Regions from separate parts of the Homo sapiens genome. Here region 2 is linked to region 1. The links are contacts of gene promoters, found by promoter capture Hi-C in human tissues and cell types (Jung and others, 2019). All regions are on one chromosome and are shown on one strand. Each heading gives the region's core, a stretch centred on a gene start or on the middle of the fragment in contact. The rest is flanking DNA. Distances are from core to core; before and after follow the strand shown. Region 1 holds the start of TPM4 (tropomyosin 4). Region 2 overlaps HACL2 (2-hydroxyacyl-CoA lyase 2).

Region 1 (7,542 bases), core at 1,220-3,719:
AAAAAAACATACACACACACACACATATGGGGCACCTGGTACATTTTGCACATCCACTCAGGGGTGAGCACGTAGCCCAGACAGGATTCAGAGCTCAGTCTAGAAGCCACGGGCACAGCAGCTTTTTTAACATACCCTCTTCAAGAAAAAAAAGAAGAGAAGCAAGTCAGAGAGGGAGGAAGGGAAGCTGGCCTAGTGTGAGGAACAGGGCCAAGGGCTTTGTCTTTGTCAGCTCAGGCAGTTATAACAAAACACCATAGACTGGGTAGCTTCAGTAATAGACATTTATTGTTTACAGTCTGGAGGCTAGATGTCCAAGATCAAGATGCTGGCAGATTAAATGTCTGGTGAGCGCTCTCTAGCTAGCTTGCAGACAGCCACCTTCTTGCTGTGTCCTCACATTGGAAGAGGATAACCAAGTTCTGGCCTCTTCTCATAAGGGCCTTAATCCCATCATGGTGGGTCAACCCTCATGACCTCACCCAAACCTCATCATCTTCCAAAGGCCCCATCACCAATTACCATCACATGGAGATGAGGGCTTCAACACATGAATTGGAGAGGGGGCAAAAGCAAGCATTCAGTTCATTATAGGCTTATATTCCAGAAGACCTGGGCTCAAACCCTGTGCTGTGTGACCTGGGGAAAGTCATCCCACCTCTCTGAGCCTCCTGCTGTGGGGAGGAAGCAGGAGAATGAAGCTGGGCTCAGTGGGGGCTGTCTGCCCACCCTGGGAGCAGGAACAAGATCAGTGTCAAACCATCTAAGGCAAAAGTCAGATCCAAGCCAGGTGTGGCGACTCACGCCTGCAATCCCAGCAATTTGGGAGGCCGAGGCGGGCAGATCACTTGAGGTCAGGAGTTTGAGACCTGCCTGGCCAATATTGCAAAACCCTGTCTCTACTGAAAATACAAAAATTAGTCAGTCGTGGTGGTGTGCACCTGTAGTACCAGCTACCGGGGAGGTTGAGGCAGGAGAATCACTTGAACCCAGGAGGCGGAGGTTGCAGTGAGCTGAGATCGTGCCACTGCACTCCAGCCTTGGTGACAGAGCGAGACTCTCAAAAAAAAAAGTCAGATCCAGGCATGAGCTGGATATGATCACCCTAATCCAGAGTTGGGGGCCCAGGGAGGGAGTTTCAGCCTGGAGGTGACAGAAAAGTCTTCTTGAGCCAACTCTAGACCGGTGTGGTGGGGGGTGACAAAGAGAGGTGATGGGGTCTGTGGTTTGTAATCCATAGGCCTGAGCTTCTCAAACTAGGAGTGATGGGAGGATAGGACTCTTGGGATAAACAGAGGACTGAAAATTTAGGGAAAGTAGGGGACATTTTTATTAAAATGAACATGGCCTATATGCAAAAATTTTAAAGATTTAACCCGAGCCTTCAAAGAAAGTGATCCTGTAGGGGCGAGTCTCTTCTAGCCAAGCTCCCCAAAGCCCAGAAATGAGGGACTAGGTCTGAGCCCTTCAGCCCTTCAGAGTATTTTGGTAAGACAGTCTAAGAACCACTGCCTTGGGCCATAGGGAGCCATAGCAGGTTCTAGGCAGAAAGAGGGCAGGCGTATTTGTTAGAAAGTTTCTCTGACCCCGTGTTGGGGTCAGAACCAGAGGGAGAAAGGCTGGGGACAGGGATGGGCGGAGGGATCCACGCGCAGAGAATGAGATTGCTTAACTCCAGATCATGGTGAGGCTGCACCTCTGAAACTGGAATGTGTGTATTTCTGGAAAACATTTGGAGTCTTCAGTTTCCCAAAAGCTGCCATTGATCTCCCTAGAGTACTGGGGACCCCAATAAGCCCAAAACAGCTGGTCCTCAGGACGAGGGAAAGATGTGAAAATCCCACTATCAGGTAGCATGGATGGCGTGGTGCATGCTATCGCAACCCCTGTTCTACAGATAAGGAAACTGATGCCCAGAGAGAGACGGAGGACTCTTGTGAATATTGGGGGGGACCGCCCCTGCACCTCGGGGACGTGACCCCCCCCCCAGGCTGACCCGTTCCTCGCTCTGTCGTCCCCAGGTGGAGGAGGAGCTGACGCACCTCCAGAAGAAACTAAAAGGGACAGAGGACGAGCTGGATAAATATTCCGAGGACCTGAAGGACGCGCAGGAGAAGCTGGAGCTCACGGAGAAGAAGGCCTCCGACGTACGTGTGCAGGGATGCGGGAGCCCGCGGCGGGGCCAGGCCGGAGCCCCGGGGCCGGGAAGGCGGGGAGAGCCGCAGGGGGAGGAGGAAGAGGAGGAGGAGAAGGCGGCGCCTCCCAGCGCTTTCTCCAAATAAGTCCCGAAAAGGGGCACTTTCCAGCAGCTGTGGCCAGCGGTGCCGACGTCAGGCCCTCCCCCAGCGGTGCTGACGTCGGCGGTCCGGCCGGGTGACCTCATCGCCCCGACGGCAGCCGGCCCGGGGGGCGGGGAGAGGCGGGGGCGGCCCCCGCGCAGGCAAAGGCTTGGGGGGCCGGGGCGCGGCTGTGCAGCTCTCGCCGGAGCCGAGCCCAGCCGAGCGTCCGCCGCTGCCCGTGCGCCTCTGCGCCTCCGCGCCATGGCCGGCCTCAACTCCCTGGAGGCGGTGAAACGCAAGATCCAGGCCCTGCAGCAGCAGGCGGACGAGGCGGAAGACCGCGCGCAGGGCCTGCAGCGGGAGCTGGACGGCGAGCGCGAGCGGCGCGAGAAAGTGAGCGCCCCGGCCTCGGGCCCCGCACCCGCAGCCTCCTCCCCCGCGCGCCCTCCTTTCTTCCCGGCTTCCCGCGCTGCCCGCCCGCGCGCAGTCCTCGGGCCGCCTTTTTACGCCCTCGGACGCCGATCGCCGACCCACATCCCTGCGCCCGCAGCCAGGACCCCCTACTTCCTCCGCCGTCCTCCTTCCTGGGCCTGGGACAGGGGAGGGGGCGCCGCCTCCGGGTCGGGCGGGGCCGGCCAAGCGGGAAATGGGGGGATGGGGCGGAGGGGGTGAGCGATCTCCGGGTGGAGAAGTGGAGCGGCGGGAGGGGGCGTATCGTGCAGGCTCCGACTCCGGGGCTGGCGCCGGGGTCCCGGGCCGAGGGGAACCCGCGACCGGACTTGTGGGGGAGAATGAGGATGAAAACGTGGAGCTTCCATTGTCTAGGGTTTGACCGGCCGACAGGGATTTCGACGGGGGACCGGGGATCTGGGGAGGGGGTCGCACTTTCTCGCCTCTTTCGCGGCTTCCCGGCTTCTGCTTGCTTCCCTGACCGTTCCCAGGGGCGCGGCGGCGACGTGTCTGCTCCAGGCGGCGGGGGGGATGGGGGGTGGAGGAAGTTCAGCCCCAAGCCGCCCGCCTTTCTCCAGCTGATTCCTGCGGGAACCGGGGCGGCGGGACCCTGCCTCTCTCCAGAAGGCCCCGGGAACGCTGGCGCGGGGCCCTGAACCCACGATCGTTTGAGCGCCTGCTGTGCGCCTCCGCCGCGAGTCGCAGGGCCCGAGATAAACAATGGGTCTGAAAAAGGAGGGAGTTTCACCATCCTCTCTGCATCATCCTCCTGGCTGTCCCTCGGGACAGATGGTGGCACCGCCAGGGTCTGGGGACAGATTTGGATTCTGGTCCCATATCATGCCACCCACAGGCTTCATGACTTGGTATTTGCTCTCTAGGAGCTTTTTTCCCATCTGCGAGTAGGACTGATAAGAATCCCGACCCCCCAGAGTAGCAGGGAGGGTCCCAGGAGTAAATCTCAGGCGTGGAGCCTGGCGCTTTGTAAATAATCAATTGTGTTGTTGTTTTTTGTTGTTTTGTTTTTGAGGCAGTCTCACTCTGTCGCCCAGGCTGGAGTGCAGTGGTGCGATCTCGGCTCGCTGCAACCTCCACCCCCCGAGTTCAAGAGATTCTCCTGCTTCAGCCTCCCGAGTAGCTGGGATTACAGGTGCCCGCCACCACGCCCAGCTAATTTTTTTTTTTTTATTTTGGATTTTTAGTAGAGACAGTGTCTCACCATGCTGGCCAGGCTGGTCTCGAACTCCTGACCTCGTGATCTGCCCACCTTGGCCTCCCAAAGTTCTGGGATTACAAGCGTGAGCCACGGCGCCCAGCCTCAATTGTGTTTTCTCTGCCCTGGGAAGAGCTCATAGACAAATGGAGGCAGGGGAGCTGACTCACTGATGGAGCGAGGTCTGCATTCCACGGGTTTTCTGTGCAGTTATGGGAGCATGACAGGGGAGGCTCCAAAATGGAGGTTGAGCTGGGTCTTATAGAATAAATAAGTTTGCTGGGACCAGAGACATGGGTGTGCACAGACTCAGAGGCAAGAAAGTTGTATGATGAGGGTGGGGGGGTGTGCGGATAGAGGTTGAAGCCCAAAAGCCCTGAAAGTTCAGTGTTGAGGCTCAGGGTGGGGACCCTAGAGAGGCAAAAGATGCCCAGCCAGATGGAATTGGTGGTGTGAATTGCCAGGACTGGAAAGAGCCCAGATGGGGGCTGCAGCATGGGCCTTGGTTGAAGCCTCTAATCCTGTAAGGGCTGCTTTGGCCCAAGAGGCCTTAGAAACCCGGTGTAAGCCTCAATCGGTAGCCGGTCTGGCCTCTTTCTCACACTTAACCGACACAGCTCTTGCTCTGATCTCATCCCAAGTCATCTCGCTGGAGGACAATTAACTCGGCTTCAAAATGGCCCTCAGCCTGGAGCCAAGATTTAGGAGCAAGACCGTCTAGTTGGGAGAGAAGATGTTTTTGGAGAGTTGAAGACTTCTTGAAAAAGTTCGAAAAGTTCTTGAAAAAGCAAAGGATGCTTCTTTCCGTCTGGGAGAGGGAAAACCTCTCCCAGGGCAAAAGGAACTAAGACCAGGGGTGGGTTAAAAAAAAAAAAAAAAAAACCTTTCACTCTTGTAGAATAAGCCAGGAGCCGGCGTGTGGTAGACTTCTGGGCCTGTTTCCCGACAGCTGGTTTCGTTTAGATTTTTGTGTGATTAACTGACATCTTCCTGTTCCTTTGCCACATGTATCTAGCAAGCCTCTTTTACCTTATAAGGGAAATCCTTTGTAGCGTGTGGAAGGCTTTGATTGCAGGAAGGGGTGGAACCCAAAATGACTCGGCCGTGACTAGCAGTTTTTCAAAAATACATATATATGTATGCATGTACAGATATGCGTGTATCTCCCAACTCCAGACAGCTGAAAATCTGCCAAAAGCGTTGTTTGCCAGGATTCAGAATTTCCCACATAAGGGCTACTCACTTCTTAAAAGACAACTCATGAATCAAGCACCTCTGTTTGATCTTTAAAATCAATTCCTCGACTGCTAATGGGTACACAGTTTTTTGTTTGTTTGTTTGTCTTTGGCGGGTTATGAAAATGTCCTGGAATTCGATAATGGTGTTGGTTGCAGAGTGTTTTTGCAACATCAGTTCCTGGCCCAGTTACTGAAGGTGGTAGGAGGAGTTAAGATCTAGGCAATTAAAAAGAATGAAAGGCACCCATTCATGGGAAGGCCTCAGTGACGTTTCTTAAGACAGTTTCATCAGTGGTTTTCACAATTCTCTGCATTTGGTGTTTCAGAGGACACTGCAATACGAAACACCTGTGGGAGTGCCCTCTTTCTGCTTCTAGGAATCTGAGGCTGAGAAACCTTCCTGACTCTATTTGTGTAGTTTTTCGGCCACGTTAGCCTCATTCTATTTTTTTTTCCCCCAGTATGAACTCAGGGCAGGAGAGGGAGTGGTTTCCTAATAATTTTTTTTTTTTGAGACGGAATCTTGCTCTGTTACCCAGGCTGGAGTGCAGTGGCGCGATCTCGGCTCATTGCAACCTTCACCTCCCGGGTTCAAGCGATTCTCCTGCCTCAGCCTCCCAAGTAGCTGGGATTACAGGCGCCTGCCCCCACACCCAACTGATTTTTTTGTATTTTTAGTAGAGATGCGGTTTCACCATGTTGGCCAGGCTGGTCTCGAACTCCTGACCTCATGTGATCCACCCACCTCCGCCTCCCAAAGTGTTAGGATTACGGATGTGAGCCACCGCGCCCGGCCTTCCTAATAATTTTGATAGCCTTCCCCAGTTCAGGGATTCTTCATTTGTTCTGATAGGAAAAAGCTAGCGTGGCTTCCCTTTTCCTCTCGGTTGAGGCCCGTTTGACCCGTTCTCAATATTCCTTCCAAAGAGCAGGCATCGCTGGAAAACTCGCCTTGCCTCGTAGCCCTGGCAGGACCTAGGGGACAGGTTCTGACAAGGAAGAGCCCTGGGTGGGTCTTAAGAGGCCATTCATTTCTTACCAATTCTGAGTCACTGAATAAAACCACTTCCCCCAGTGGGGCCCCTCGGTTTCTTCACCTGTAAAATGGGTGCGATGTGTGAGGATGAAATTGCAGTAAAATAAAACCGTGGCAGTAAGAGATGCCTTTCTCTGGCACATCCCACCTGCTGGGCATAAGCGGCGCCACCCTCTGGAGTTACAGCCTCAAGGCAGTCCGGTAACTAATCAGGCTTTGGGATGGAGAGGGCCAGGATGAGGAAGCAACCTTCCCAACACCACGTGGCTGTGAAAATGACAAAGCACGGTCGGGCGCAGTGGCTCACGCCTGTAATCCCAGTACTTTGGGAGACCAAGGCGGGTGGATCACGTGAGGCCAGGAGTTTGAGACCAGCCTGACCAACAAGACGAAACCCTGTCTCTACTAAAAATACAAAAAAATAGCAAGGCGTGGTGGTGTCCGTCTGTAATCCCAGCTACTCAGGAGGCTGAGGCAGAATTGCTTGAACCCGGGAGGTAGAAGTTGCAGCAAGCCGAGATCATGCCATTGCACTCCAGCCTTGGTGACGGCGCAAGACTCCATCTCAAAAAAAAAATTAAAAAGAAAATGACAAAGCGGGGATTCCAGCCCAGCACTTTTTGGCCCTGGAGTTCCTGGTTTAATGCTTCCCATTGTACTTCCTTTCTTGTAGGTAAAAACACCTTGAAAAGCCAATAACACTATTGGGGTATGTCTTCCATGCCTGCAACCAAGTTTTCTTTCCCTTTCCATATCTTTTTGTCCTGCCATCTCTCAGCCAGGCGGATTGAAGGATGGAATTCCAACGAGGCTCCCCCGCCTCGTCCCACCTTGGTAATTGCATGGCCAACATTTAACTGAGGGCTCCATAGTCTTGCATTTATCTTGCCATTCAGGTGAATGGGAGCGGAACTCACAGGACACAATGAGCCGGGTCACTGATGGCCTTGCTTTCTAAGAATCTCACAGTGAGCCCTAGAACTCTCTACGTGGTAACACTGTGTGCCTTTTTCAGAGAAGAGCCTATCTTAGATCTTAGCCTAACGTTGGGTCTATTGTGTTGCTGGAGAGACCAGCACTGACATTCATCTCAAAGCACATGGTATGTTTGACTCCTATGTTGACTCAACTACCCATCTTGTACTGGGACACTCGCTTTTTTTTTTTTTTTTTGAGACGGAGTCTTGCTCTGTCACCAGGCTGGAGTGCAGTGGCACGATCTCAGCTCACGGCAACCTCCGCCTCCCGGGTTCAAGTGATTCTTCTGCCTCAGCCTCCTGAGCATGTGGAACTACAGGCACGTGCCACCACACTCAGCTAATTTTT
Region 2 (6,810 bases), core at 3,827-6,326, 960 kb before region 1:
ACAGAGACAGGGATAGGGCCTCTGCCAGAGAGGAGGCTCCCTCCCCACCTCAGCCCACCCCTGGTGACATCTCCCAGAACCCCAGGCCCTAAGCTTCCCTCAGGCCAGCCCAGTCACCTTGTGTCTGACGAATGTATCAAATTCGATGAGGCTGTAGCCAAAAGCTCCGTCCCCAAACAGGCACCAGACCTAGTCGGGAGGGGACCCAGGATGGTTAGGGTGGATCAGGACCTAGAGAGCAGCAAGTCTCCCAACTCCAGTGCCTCACCTCAGCATCTGGCCGGCACAGCTTGGCCCCAAGTGCAAATCCTGCACCAACTCCCAGAGTCCCAAAGGCCCCTAAGAGGACCAAGAGCAGGTGGGTGTGAAGGCGTCCTGATGGATGGTGCCCACTGCCCCAGGCGGGGGCCCTTCCTTACCAGGATCGAGCCAGCGCAGGGGGCCGCGGGGCTGTACCAGATGGGCAGCAGTGCCCACGAAGTCCCCGCCATCCACCACCAGAATTGAGTTGTCAGGTAGCGTTTCCTCCACCAGCTGCAGCACCTGCACTGGGTTCAGGTGCTGGGCCACAGGCATCGCTGCCTTCTCCCTGCGACAGGACAGCGAAGGTCACCAGGGTTGGCAGCAGGGTCTGCCGGGAACCCCCTTCCCACATCCACTCCACCCAGGCCCCACCGAAAGGTCTGCTCCTTCTGCCGGTCGGCTTCCCGCAGCTCCTCCACCCAGTCTGGGGCCCAGGTCTGGCCCTGAAGGCCCTCCACTAACTTCAGCACGAAGGAACCCACATCTCCTGGGGAAGGAAGAGGACACAGCTGTGGGGAGCTGGCTTCCTCCTGTTCTTCCAGCATCAGAGGCCTCAAAACAGCAGGAAGCCAGCAGCAGCATCCGAGCAGGCAGACGGGAAGCAGGCCAGGGGTGCTCCTAGAAAAAAAACAGGTGAAACACCCCAGAACCTGCCAGAACCAGGGGAGGGCAGCCCAGGTGAAAAGGGAAGACAAGGCCCAAGAAACAAGGGTTAAGGAGCACAAGGCAGGTGACAAACCCAAGCTGGCCTCGTCCCCTCCCTCCACCTCCTTCTGCCTGGGAAACACTCAATGAAAAGAGCTACATCCACCAAGCACATCTCTCAAATCCAGGCACGTGGAAGCGCACAGCGAACGTTACTGAAGTGAACTAACAAACAGCCCCGTGATGTATCTTTCACCACCCCATTTTTCAAATGATCAAATGGAGGCTCTGAGAAGGTGAGGCTCTGCCGCTGTTCATCTCCAGTTCAGGCCTCCTCGCTTCTGTCCTGGCCATTTTGAGCAGCCCCCCTGGCCTCCACCCAGCCCCCTTCCGGCCTGCCGTCCATGGCTGCTGAGTGGACCTTCCCAACACAGATGCAACGGTGCTACTTCTCTGCTTAATACAAGAGTGTCCTGTCGCCTAGGCTGCAGGGGAGTCAACATCCTCAGAATGATGAACCAAGTTCAAGTCCAAGGGGACTAAAATAAGGGGAGGGGAGAGATACGGCAGGAAGACAGGCTAAGGGGCCAACGAGTGTGCTCTCTGTCCTGAGGGCAGTGGGCAGTGTGGGAGGGAACGTGATCACATGCACGTTTTCAAGCCTCCCTCTGTGTCCACCCCACCATTTGTTCCTACAGAAGCATCTATCAGGCCGGGCGCAGTAGCTCTGGTCTGTAATCCCAGCACTTTTGAGAGGCCGAGGCAGGAGGATCACTTGAGGCCAGGAGTTCCACGCCAACCTGGGCAACACAGTGAGATGCTGATTCCACAAAAAAAAATTAACAAATTAGCCTGGCATGGTGGTGCATACTTGTAGTCCCAGCTACTCAGGAGGCTGAGGTGGGAGGATTGCTTTTGAGCCTGGGAGTTTGAGGGTGCAGTGAGCTGTGATTGCACTACTGCATTCCAGCCTGGGTGACAGAGCGAGACCTCGTCTCTAAAAAATAAAAATAAAAAAAATTTAAAGAAAGAAGCATTCATCAGTTTGAGAGCCAACTATTTGTCTCTGGTTGACTGGCTACCCCTAGGGCAAGGTCTGGGCCTCAATCACTGTACCAGGCTCAAGCCAGCTGCAGCAGAAACCAGGAGGAGAGGGACTGGGAGGAGCACATATGTGTACGGGGGGATTAAGGGGCTCACCCTGCACAGCCTCCTGGGGCTTCCAGAAGATGTCTGAGTTGAGCAACATCTCTTCCCGATTACGATTGACGATGATGATCTTGCTGCTGTGGCTGAGGACACGGCCATAGGATAGGCGGAAGTCACACACAGTTCCTGGTGTGGGGGACAGGAATGCAGTAGGCAGAGGCCCCATGTCGTCTACCTTACTTGATCCACTGTGGTGGACTGGATGCAAATGAGTCCCTGTTCCTCACCGAGTCTCCCTGCACCTGTGCCACCTACAGTGACCTTGCAGCTCCCCACACCCCCTGAATCGGGACTGGCCTCATGACATGCTTTGGCCAACAGGATAGGGCAGAGGCAGGTTATATTTTCCCAGATGGCCATAATATCTCCCACCCTACATCCATTTGTACAAGGTCACCTTGACATGCCTCCCATGGAGAGAGGTGCAGCCTAGGTCCCCTTTCCTTGAAAGTGACACACCATGACACCCAACAAGGAAGATATGCAGTTTCTTCCTTGTTCACTTTTAGAGGCCTGGGTGGGGCCAAGGAATGTGCTCTCTGTCTAAGAAGTCTGACTACCCTGAGGCCATCATGCTGGGAGGAAACCGGAGCCACACATAGAGACCTGTGTAGTTGCCCTAGTCCACAGCCCCTCCAACAGCTGGCGTCAATTGCAAGACCTCTGAGTGAAGACACCTCCAGATGATTCAGGACCCCCACCCCCCATTCCTGCAGACTCTACTTCAAGAAGCCACACAGCCTCCACTCACTCTCTTGAATAACCGCACTCTCCTAGCCCCATAGTTTTCTCATCCTTCACCAAGTCGGCCAGCCCAGGCTAGCCTACTGGAGGATGAGAAACAAGGGGGCCATGGAGACAGGGGTGAAGAACTCTATGACCCCAGCTGAGGCCATCCCAGACGAGCTGCAGGGCCAGCCAATCCCCATACAGGTGAGCAAGCCCAGCCTGGATCAGCACAGCTGCCTTCCTGCCTAACCCAAGTGCAGACTCATGAATGAGCCCAGCCAAAACCACAGCTACCACCTACCTTATAGGTGGATCTTGAGAAATCAGAAATGCATTTTTAGCCATTGAGTTTGGGGATGGTTGTTACAGGGCAGTAGCTATCTGATACACCTATTATGCGTCTGGTTGGGTTCAAAGCGCTTTATGTGAAAATGTGTATCAAGTACAATAGGTGCCCACTAGACCTTCCTCCTCCTTCGTGTGAAGCTGGGTAACAGGGTGAGGGGGTTCCTGGGGGAAGGAGGGAAAGGAAGAGGCTCAGGCCCACCTGCTAGGACAATGACATCCGCCTTCTTCAGGGCCGCACTGCGGTTCTCCCGGATGTGGAGGGGGTGGTTGCGGCCTAACAGCCCCCGTGCCATCCCTCCAAGGAAGCAGGGAACACCCAAGGTCTCCACGGCAGCCCTGGGAGTCCAGGCAGAGCAGAGGTCAGTGTGGCCGGGGCCTCCCGCCTCCCCAAGAGCACCCGAGGACTGGGGACTGGGAACGTGAAAACAAGGGCAGGGCTGGCGCTTCTCACCGAAGCTTGTCGGCAGACGTTGGGGTGAGCAGGGCCTGACTCCCCAGCACCATCAGAGGCCTCTTGGCCCGGCTCAGGATCTCCACACAGCGCTGAACCTGGAGCGAGAGGTGGGGATCAAAGGGCTGTCTTTTTATTTATTTATTTTTTTGAGACACAGTTTCACTCTGTTGCCCAGGATAGAGTGTAATGGCATGATCTCAGCTCACTGCAGCCTCCACCTCCCAGGTTCAAACGATTCTCCCGCCTCAGCCTCCAGAGTAGCTGGGATTACAGGCGCGTGCCACCATGCCTGGCTAACTTTTGTATTTTCAGTAGAGACAGGGTTTCACCATGTTGGCCAGGCTAGTCTTGAACTCCTGGCCTCAAGTGATCCGCCTGCCTCGGCCTCCCTAAGTGTTGGGATTGCTGCTGTGAGCCACCGCGTCCAGCCAAAGGGCCGCCCTTGAGTCGCCATGAGCACCCAAGATTAAGGCCCCAGTACTGACTCAGGGAGAGGGTCAGGGGGCCCTCTCCCCTCAGGGAGAGGGTAGGGTCCTCAGACACAAAAGAGAGGCAATTCACCTGCTGCGGGGAAGCCTGGGGGATGTCCAGGGGCAGCGGTCCCTCGGGCTGAGGCTCCCAGGCTCCTGCAAAGAGGTTGGCCAGGTAATTCTCTAAATACCTGCAAAAGGGAGGGGGAAGAAACCAAGTTGCCAGAATTAACTAACTACAAGGATTCCAGGATCTGAGCAAGGAAAGGGGCCGGGAGAAAAGCCAGGAGCAAAGTGGCATGGGGACAGGGTGGATGAGTGACACCTCAGGGACAGACGAACCCTAGTGGCCAGGTCTTCAACTGCCTGTTTGCCCTCGGTAGCCTCTGGGGTCCACCCCAACTCCACGTAGCCCCCCAGAAGCAAGGAACGCAGGCTCAGCATGCCAGGATTAAGCCTGTGGGTCCAACAGATGTGAGCTCAAGTCCTGGCTCTGTCACTTCCTAGCTGTGCAACTTAGGGCAAGTGACTTCACCCTTCTGAGCTTCCACCTCTGTCAATGTAAATATGAACCTCCCTCCCCAGGTTCAAGGATCTGTCCACTTAGGACATGAGGCGCTTTGCATGGGAGTTCTGAACACTGTCCTCTCCTGCTTCAAACAGGGTCTTCTCGGTCTCCTTGCTCACTGGGCCCCAGGGCCCCAACTTTCCTGAAGGACCTGTGCAGGGCCCTGGAGACACAAAGATAGATCCTGCCCAGCCCTCCCCTCAGGGGGCGCTCTATCCAGCGAAAGACAGACACATGGGCATTGGCAGGAAACAGTCGGAGCTCAGAGTCAGAAGCCTCTGCTTTCACCGTTAAGGACAGGCCAAGACAGCACAGAAGCAGCCCAGGATGGAACCGTGGGAAGCCCCGCAAGTAAAGAAAAGGCAAGGGAGGCTGAGGCAGGAGGATTGCTCGAGGCCAGGAGTTCAAGGCTGTGGTGAGCTATGATCATACCACTGCACTCCAGCCTGGGTGATAGAGTGAGGCCCTGTCTCAAAACAAAACAAAACAAAAAAGGCAAGATAAGAGATAGCCTTGTGAGAGGCAGCCCAAGAGAGAGGGGCAAGGAGAACAAGGGGAGGGACTGACTGGGAAGCCAGGGGGCAAAGTGCATTAAGAATGAGGCTATATGACCAAAATGGTGAAACCTCATCTCTACTAAAAATACAAAAATTAGCTGGGTATGGTGGACTGCACCTGTATTCCCAGCTACTCCGGGGGCTGAGGCAGGAGAATCACTTGAACCCGGGAGGTGGAGGTTGCAGTGAGCCAAGATCGCACTACTGCGCTCCAACCTGGGGGACAAAGCGAGACTCCGTCTCAAAAAAAATAAAGAGGCCATAGAACAAAATCACTACTGCCTGAGCTGACCCTCAGGCGCTTCACACACATCCGGAGTACAGGAGCCTGACTACCTTGTCCACTGATGATGCCCCGTGCCTGTCCTGGAACCTGGCACATGGCTGCCGCTCGCTAAATGTATGGAAAGGAAGGGCCAAGGACAGGCAAAGGGAAGGGACTGAGGGGAAGGGAGAGAAGGAGGAAGAAGAGGAAGAGGAGGAGGAGAAGAAAGGAAAGGAAGAAGAAGAAGAGAAGAGGCCAGGCGCAGTGGCTCATGTCTGTAATGTTTGAGAGGCCGAGGAGGGTGGATCACTTGAGGTTAAGAGTTCAAGACCAGCCTGGCCAACATGATGAAACCTCGTCTCTACTAAAAATACAAGTATTAGCCAGGTGTGGTGGCGGGCGCCTGTAGTCCCAGCTACTCAGAAGGCTGAGGCAGGAAAATCACTTGAACCCAGGGGGAGGCGGAGGTTGCAGTGAGCCGAGATCACGCCACTGCACTCAAGCCTAGGCAACAGAACGAAGAATCTGTTTCAAAAAAAAAAAAAAAGAAAGAAAAGGACAAAGATGTGAGGGAAGGAAAGGAGGAGGAAGGAGAGGGCTCGAGTCTGGGCTCTGCCACTTTTTTTTTTTTTTTTGAGACGGAGTCTTGCTCTGTCACCCAGGCTGGAGTGCAGTAGCACGATCTTGGCTCACTGCAAGCTCCACCTCCTGGGTTCACGCCATTCTCCTGCCGCAGCCTCCCAAGTAGCTGGGACTACAGGCGCCCGCCACCACGCCCGGCTAATTTTTTTTTTTTTTGTATTTTTAGTAGAGATGGGGTTTCACCATGTTAGCCAGGATGGTCTCGATCTCCTGACCTCGTGATCTGCCCACCTCGGCCTCCCAATGTGCTGGGATTACAAGTGAGAGCCACCGCACCCGGCCTGGGCTCTGCCACTTCTTAGCTGTGTGACTTTGGGCAAGTGACTTCACCTTTCTGAGCTTCCTCCTCTGTAAATGTAAGAATGAACCTCCCTTCCGAGGTTCAAGGATCATCCTTTAGGAGGAGGAAAACGGAGAGGACGATGGGAAAGGTGGTGGGGGAAAGGGAGGAGAAGAGGAAGGAAGAGGGAGGAGGAAGAGGAGGAAGAAGAGATGATGGAGGAGGAGAAGAAAGGGAAAAGGAGGAGGAGGAGGGCTGTCCTGAGCCTCTCCCCTTTGCTGCCTCCACGAGGGCCGCCTTGCTTTCCCTACCCACCCAGTTCATTCCTGCCTCAGGACCT

What was found. Contacts are between HindIII fragments. The study calls those that stand out against the background at their distance.
Region 2: a fragment that was not itself captured here is called in contact with the fragment with the promoter of TPM4 in region 1 in 1 of the 25 tissues and cell types used here (aorta).

The regions. Positions count from the first base shown.
Region 1 is chr19:16,074,026-16,081,567 of GRCh38, forward strand. TPM4 (tropomyosin 4) reads left to right here and starts at 2,470. Exons shown (of 8, transcript NM_003290.3): 1 at 2,470-2,672. The coding sequence starts at 2,541. RefSeq lists enhancers at 1,354-2,083, 2,084-2,811, 2,812-3,541, 4,460-4,679, 4,790-4,839 and 3 more and a silencer at 2,120-3,029. The HindIII fragment of the contact is 17,695 bases long and covers 1-7,542 here.
Region 2 is chr19:15,115,733-15,122,542 of GRCh38, forward strand. It overlaps HACL2 (2-hydroxyacyl-CoA lyase 2), which reads right to left. Exons shown (of 16, transcript NM_006844.5): 7 at 4,250-4,349; 8 at 3,686-3,783; 9 at 3,434-3,570; 10 at 2,149-2,283; 11 at 676-790; 12 at 420-589; 13 at 269-339; 14 at 118-189. Among named protein-coding and RNA genes, the nearest start is that of ILVBL-AS1, 5.0 kb to the right of the region's middle. The HindIII fragment of the contact is 6,371 bases long and covers 1,892-6,810 here.